Linked DNA regions of Homo sapiens: region 2 is linked to region 1. Evidence: promoter capture Hi-C in 16 types of primary human blood cells and fetal thymus (Javierre and others, 2016). All regions are on one chromosome and are shown on one strand. Each heading gives the region's core, a stretch centred on a gene start or on the middle of the fragment in contact. The rest is flanking DNA. Distances are from core to core; before and after follow the strand shown. Region 1 holds the start of BPNT1 (3'(2'), 5'-bisphosphate nucleotidase 1). Region 2 overlaps AIDA (axin interactor, dorsalization associated).

The links. Contacts are between HindIII fragments. The CHiCAGO score rates a contact against its expected background, and 5 or more counts as called.
Region 2: a fragment that was not itself captured here is called in contact with the fragment with the promoter of BPNT1 in region 1 in 1 of 17 cell types (M2 macrophages); the score reaches 6.4 in M2 macrophages.

What each region holds. Positions count from the first base shown.
Region 1 is chr1:220,088,250-220,091,059 of GRCh38, reverse strand. BPNT1 (3'(2'), 5'-bisphosphate nucleotidase 1) reads left to right here and starts at 1,272. Exons shown (of 9, transcript NM_006085.6): 1 at 1,272-1,374. RefSeq lists an enhancer at 972-1,161. The HindIII fragment of the contact is 18,631 bases long and covers 1-2,810 here.
Region 2 is chr1:222,681,852-222,684,843 of GRCh38, reverse strand. The region is part of intron 6 of AIDA (axin interactor, dorsalization associated); the gene reads left to right. Among named protein-coding and RNA genes, the nearest start is that of AIDA, 29 kb to the left of the region's middle. The HindIII fragment of the contact is 690 bases long and covers 1,097-1,786 here.

The DNA.
Region 1 (2,810 bases), core at 23-2,522:
GAGGTTGCAGTGAGCCGAGATCAAGCCATTGCACTCCAGCCTGGGCGACAGAGTAAGACGCCGTCTCAAAAAATATATATATGTATATATGTGTGTGTGTGTGTGTGTGTATATATATATATATATATATATATATATATATATATATGGTTAAAGTAATATAATTTAAGTTATGTATATTTTTCCACTTCCCAAAAAGGGTCTACTTAACTCACAGAGTTATTGTGAAAATCAAATGAAGACGTAAAAGCCTTTTTAAGCTGGGCGCAGTGGCTCACACCTGTAATCCCAGCACTTTGGGAGGCCGAGGTGAGCAGATCACCTGGGGTCAGGAGTTCAAGACCAGCCTGGCCAATATGATGAAACCCCGTCTCTACTTAAAAAACAAACAAAATTAGCCCGGCGTGGTGGCGCGCCTGTAGTCCTAGCTACTTGGGAGGCTAAGGAGGAAGGATCGCTTGAACCCAGGAGGAGGAGGTTGTAGTGAACCTAGACTGCGCCACTGCACTCCAGCCTGGGCGACAGGATGAGACACTGCCCCCTTCCCCAACCACGCCCCCCAGTAAAAGATCCCATCTGTACACAAAAAATATTTTAATTAGCTGGGTGTGGTGGCGCGCACCTCCACCAGTAGTCCCAGCTACACGGAAGGCTGAGGCGGGAGGATGGCTTGAGCCTAGAAGTGGGAAGGCAGCAGTGAGCCGTAATCGACTCTGGGCGACAGAGCAAGCTATCTATCGCTTAAAAAAAAAAAAAAAAAAAAAAAAAAAAAGGTAAGCAAGCATCTTTGACACAATTCTGCATAAAGTTGCTGTGTTATTGCGTGGGGAGTGGGAGGTGGAGGTGTGTGTGGTGGACCTGCTGAAGCCTGTCCACGGACCGCTAGGGGTTCGAAGTTAAATAGCCGCAGAGTGGTATCACTAATACAAAGAACATTTTAAAACAGTGAACTCTACGAAGTGGGCTGGAAGACAGCTGAAACCAAAACCAATCTTTTTTTTGTTTCAACACACTGTTGCTGGCTTAATGTGTTCTTTCCTTCTTCTTTTTCTTTTTTTAGCCAATCTTTGAAAGTTGACACATCTTTCGCTTTTATTTAATGCAACAGGTGACTTGCACCTACGGAGAGCTTGGAGAAAACACGGACAAGTGGAATTTTCCCGCGGATCAGGAGTCTAAAGAGGCAGTGTGAAATCGCTGTTGTGCGCTTGCGCGCAGTTTCCCGCATGCTCAGTAGCTGAGGTAGGGATGCCATCCTTCTCAAAAGACTTATTGACAGTGCCAAAGCTCGGTACTGGACACAACGAGGGACCTGGGTCTACGATAACGCGCTTTTGCTCCTCCTGAAGTGTCTTTGGTCCAACGTTGTTCCAGGTTTGTCACCGTTTCTCTCCGGCCGGTCAGGGCAAGAGCCAGGTAGATAGGATTTATGTTAAAAAAATAAAACGAAAAAGGTTTATGTGAATCAGATTGCTTCTCCAGATATTCTAACTTCCGACTTGGACTCTTGAGTGTCGATATTTTAATTGTTTATCTGTGCTTTTATTTTCGTGATCCGGAAGGTTTTTATAGCCATATACTGTAGAAACAAGACAAACCTAGACATTGAGTTTGTTGATGCACCCAAATTTAGAAACTGCTTGGTACCTAAAATTAAATTTCTTTAAACAGCAAATATTCTTCCAACTGCCATTTCTACATATTTATAGGTTTGCGTGATTTATTTGGATTTCTCTGTAAATATAATTGTTGGTTCAAAAGATACGTACTTTATACTTTTATTAAGGTTCTCAAAACTCTCCTAAGAGGGTTCACCGCTTTGCCAACAATGCTCAGGAACATGTTCCCTCACACCCTTGCAAACTGGACAAAGGACAAACTCTTCTTCTTTCTTCTTTTTTCTTCTTCTTCTTCCTCCTCCTTCCTCCTCCTTCTTTTTTTTTTTTTTTTTTTTTTTTCGAGACGGAGTCTCGCTCTGTCGCCCAGGCTTGAGTGCAGTGGTGCAATCTCGGCTCACTGCAAGCTCCACCTCCCAGGTTCACGCCATTCTCCTGCCTCAGCCTCCCGAGTAGCTGGGACTACAGGCGCCCACCACCAAGCCTGGCTAATTTTTTTTGTATTTTTAGTAGAGACGGGGTTTCACCGTGTTAGTCAGGATGGTTTCGATCTCCTGACCTCGTGATCTGCCCGTCTCGGCCTCCCAAAGTGCTGGGATTACAGGCGTGAGCCACCGCGCCCAGCCTTTCTTTCTTTCTTTTTTTTTTTTTTTTAAGACAGGTTCTAGCTCTGTCCCCCAGGCTGGAGTACAGTGGTGCCATTATGTCTCACTGCAACCTTGACCTCCCAGGGTCTGGTGATTCTCCCACCTCAGCCTCCCGAGCAGCTGGGACTACAGGCATGTGCCACCACACCATCTAATTTTTGCATTTTTTTGTAGAGACGAGGTTTTGCCATGTTGCCCAGGCTGGTCTCGAACTCCTGAGCTCAAGCAATACACCAGCCTTGGCCTCCCAAAAAGTTCTAGGATTACGGGTGTGAGCCACTGCATTCAGCGACAATTTTTTTTTTTTTTTTTTTTTTTGAGTCGGAGTCTCTGTCGCCCAGGCTGGACTGCAGTGGCGCGATCTCGGCTCACCACAACCTCTGCCTCCTATGTTCAAGCAATTTTCCTGCCTCAGCCTCCTGAGTAATTTTTGTATTACTATGCCTGGTTAATTTTTGTATTTTTAGTAGAGATGGGGTTTCACCATGTTGGCCAGGCTAGTCTTGAACTCCTAACTTCAGGTGATTCACCTGCCTTGGCCTCCCAA
Region 2 (2,992 bases), core at 192-2,691, 2.6 Mb before region 1:
ATGAAGTGGGCAGATTAAGGTCTTTATGGGGTTCAGGTTGCTAAGTTGAAAAGGAACTTCTACCATAAATTAAATCCATTTGCTATGTAAGATAAAGCCCAAACTGAATTTGTATTCTGATATAGCATTGTGATATTTCATTTCAGAGATACAGATGCCTTACTGAACCTTTCTAGTCCCTGAATTTTTTTCCCCCCTAAAAGAAAGAGTATGTATGGTTTAATTAGCTATATTTGGTTTGGGATCATATTGTTCAGGGCCTGTGTTATTAAAAAATAACTTGTAAAATTATATTCATTGAAAATGTCATTGAAATAGCAAGATGATACTTAACTTTTAATTATAGAGCAAGAAAAACTTTCTTGTTACCCAAAGGGAACCCAAAATTTAAAATCAGTTTTACTAGGATATTTACATATGTGAAATTCACTTGGCTGGGCACAGTGGCTCATGCCTGTAATTCCAAGACTTTGGGAGGCCGAGGCAGGTGAATCACCTGAGGTCAGGAGTTCGAGACCAGCCTGGCCAACATGGTGAAACCCCGTCTCTACTAAAAATACAAAAATTAGCCAGGCGTGGTGGTGGGCACCTGTAATCTCAGCTACTTGGGAAGCTGAGGCAGGAGAATTGCTGGAACCTGGGAGGCGGAGGTGCCGTGAGCTAAGGTTGTGCCATTGTACTCCAACCCAGGCTAACAACAGCCAGACTCCGTCTCAAAAAAAAAAAAGAAATTCATTCTTTTTAATATGTACCTTTAATGAGTTTTGACCAACTCATATACTAACCACTACCACTGTTAAGATAATGAGGTGTGAGGGTATGATGTATGGTATGTAGATACGGAATGACCAAGAATAGTTTTTTTCTGATTTAAAATTTAAAATTAAAAACTTTTTAGCCAGCCTTTCATGAAAATAAAAAAAAGGTAGTCAAGCTTACTTACCTTTCTTGATATTAATCTCCTTCCTTCCTTTTCAAAATATTTAAATTTTTTAAGACAAACATATTTATGTTATATAATTGGCTTAGCCAAAATGGGAGTTAACTTTTCTAAAGATAGTCTTGGTAGATTTCATTTAAATAGAAAGTATAAGCTTATAGCCTATTATTTATAACCTAAAAATTTACTGATAGTCTTGAATAGTAAAGCTATAAAATGATAAACCAAAGCAATATAACTTTAAAAATAGCCAAGACACAACTTTACACAAGACTTTTAAAAAGATTTTCTTACTAAGTAACATGATCCAAGCTCAAATAGTCCTAGCAGTTTCAGAATTATTATACATAGGTACTGGTTCTTCATCTCTTACGTAGGCTTATGTATGCATAAAACATTATTTTTGAAACTCAAAATAAAGAATGAAATTTACCTATTTAATGTCAAACCTGTATTTGTTTTCTGCTGCATAACTATTCAATTCTGAGTTGAACTTGAAAGATAAGAAAGCATGGATTTTATTTTCCGCTGAAATGAAGCAGTTTCTTTTCTTGCTAACACACATGTAAGAAAGTCAAAAACTGCAGCAAATGTTCATTGCTTTCCTGTGACTATCAGGGCTTTCCTTTTTTGTGGAAATCCAGAACATGTTTAGGGGCCAAGCAGTTAATATCATCTGAAGTGTATGGTTGTGTTTACAAACAACTTTAATCAGGTATAGTTTTAATTCAACAGACCTACATACGATATTATTTCAATGATAATGGCCCCTAAGATTTTGTCAAACTTTTAAGATAATTTCAAAATGAACAAACTTATAATTTCAAAGCCTTTCTCTTAAAAGCTTGAGGAACCCATGTTCCTCAACTGCTTATCAATTGCTAGCTAAAATAAATTGCATATGTATTTTAATATTTTACAACGATTTCTATCTCTAAATGTAACTCAGCAATTCAAACAAATAAATGGTATCACTATGACCTGTTATCTATGTGCAATGCAAATTGCAAAGATTTTCTATTGCCAGATTTTCAAGACACATTTCATGTGTTATCTTCCATCTACCAAATATTGTAGCCAGTTTGAGCAGTATCTTTACCTTAAACTGTGTTAAAAATTATCTCAAAATAATGCAAAGCATTATCAAGTATGTATATTTTTATTATGTTTTGGCAGCACAAAGAAATATATACTCAAAAAAAATTTGGATGACTGAGAAAATCAGATATGTACCAGATATGCAAATTTAATTACAAGTATGATAAGTTAAAAATGGTGGAAACTAGCAATGCATATATTATCATGGGTATATATATTATCATATGTATATATTATGATAATGTTGAGTTTGCATTTTAGACACCTGATTGAATTCTGTCCTAAAAGTGTGGATAAAAAATTATGTACTCTTTGTTCATGACATTTAATTTTCAAAGCACCAAGGCAACATAAGGACTGACCTCTCATTGAAGTACCAGTGCCTGTGACAAGCATCTATAAAATATCATATAAAAATCAAATAAACTTAATAAGCAAATTCAAATCACGATGTTTTCAGAAGATACAATCCTTAGTAATTTTCTGAGAAGGCATTGCCTCTTTAACGTTCTGGTCTAGGTGGTGATATACTACTATTTTAGAACAAAGACCATCATGCCATTTGCCCTTCTGGACCAAAAGAAAAATTTTCCTTTGGTGGTGGTATATGATGTAAACAGTAGCAATTTTTTTAAAAGCAGAAATAATAAGACAAAAAAGGAAATGGCAGCCTTCCTCTTCTCTGTGTGAAGACAGGGTCTTAAAGGATTTCACTGACTTCAAGTCCCTTCCATGTAACCCCAGACTCCTCATCCATTCATAGTCTGGTTCTCCGTAATCTCCATTGTCCAGAGTGCCTTTGGCCACACACAGAACTAGTCAATGTGAGAAGATCCTACTCCTTGCTGGGATCTCCATTTTTATCAGCTTCCTCTTGGAACAGAGAAGTTGTAAGTGAGGGGCCTCAGATGTTCCTCCGCTTTTCTCTGTACCAGCTGTAGGAGGGAGAGTGGT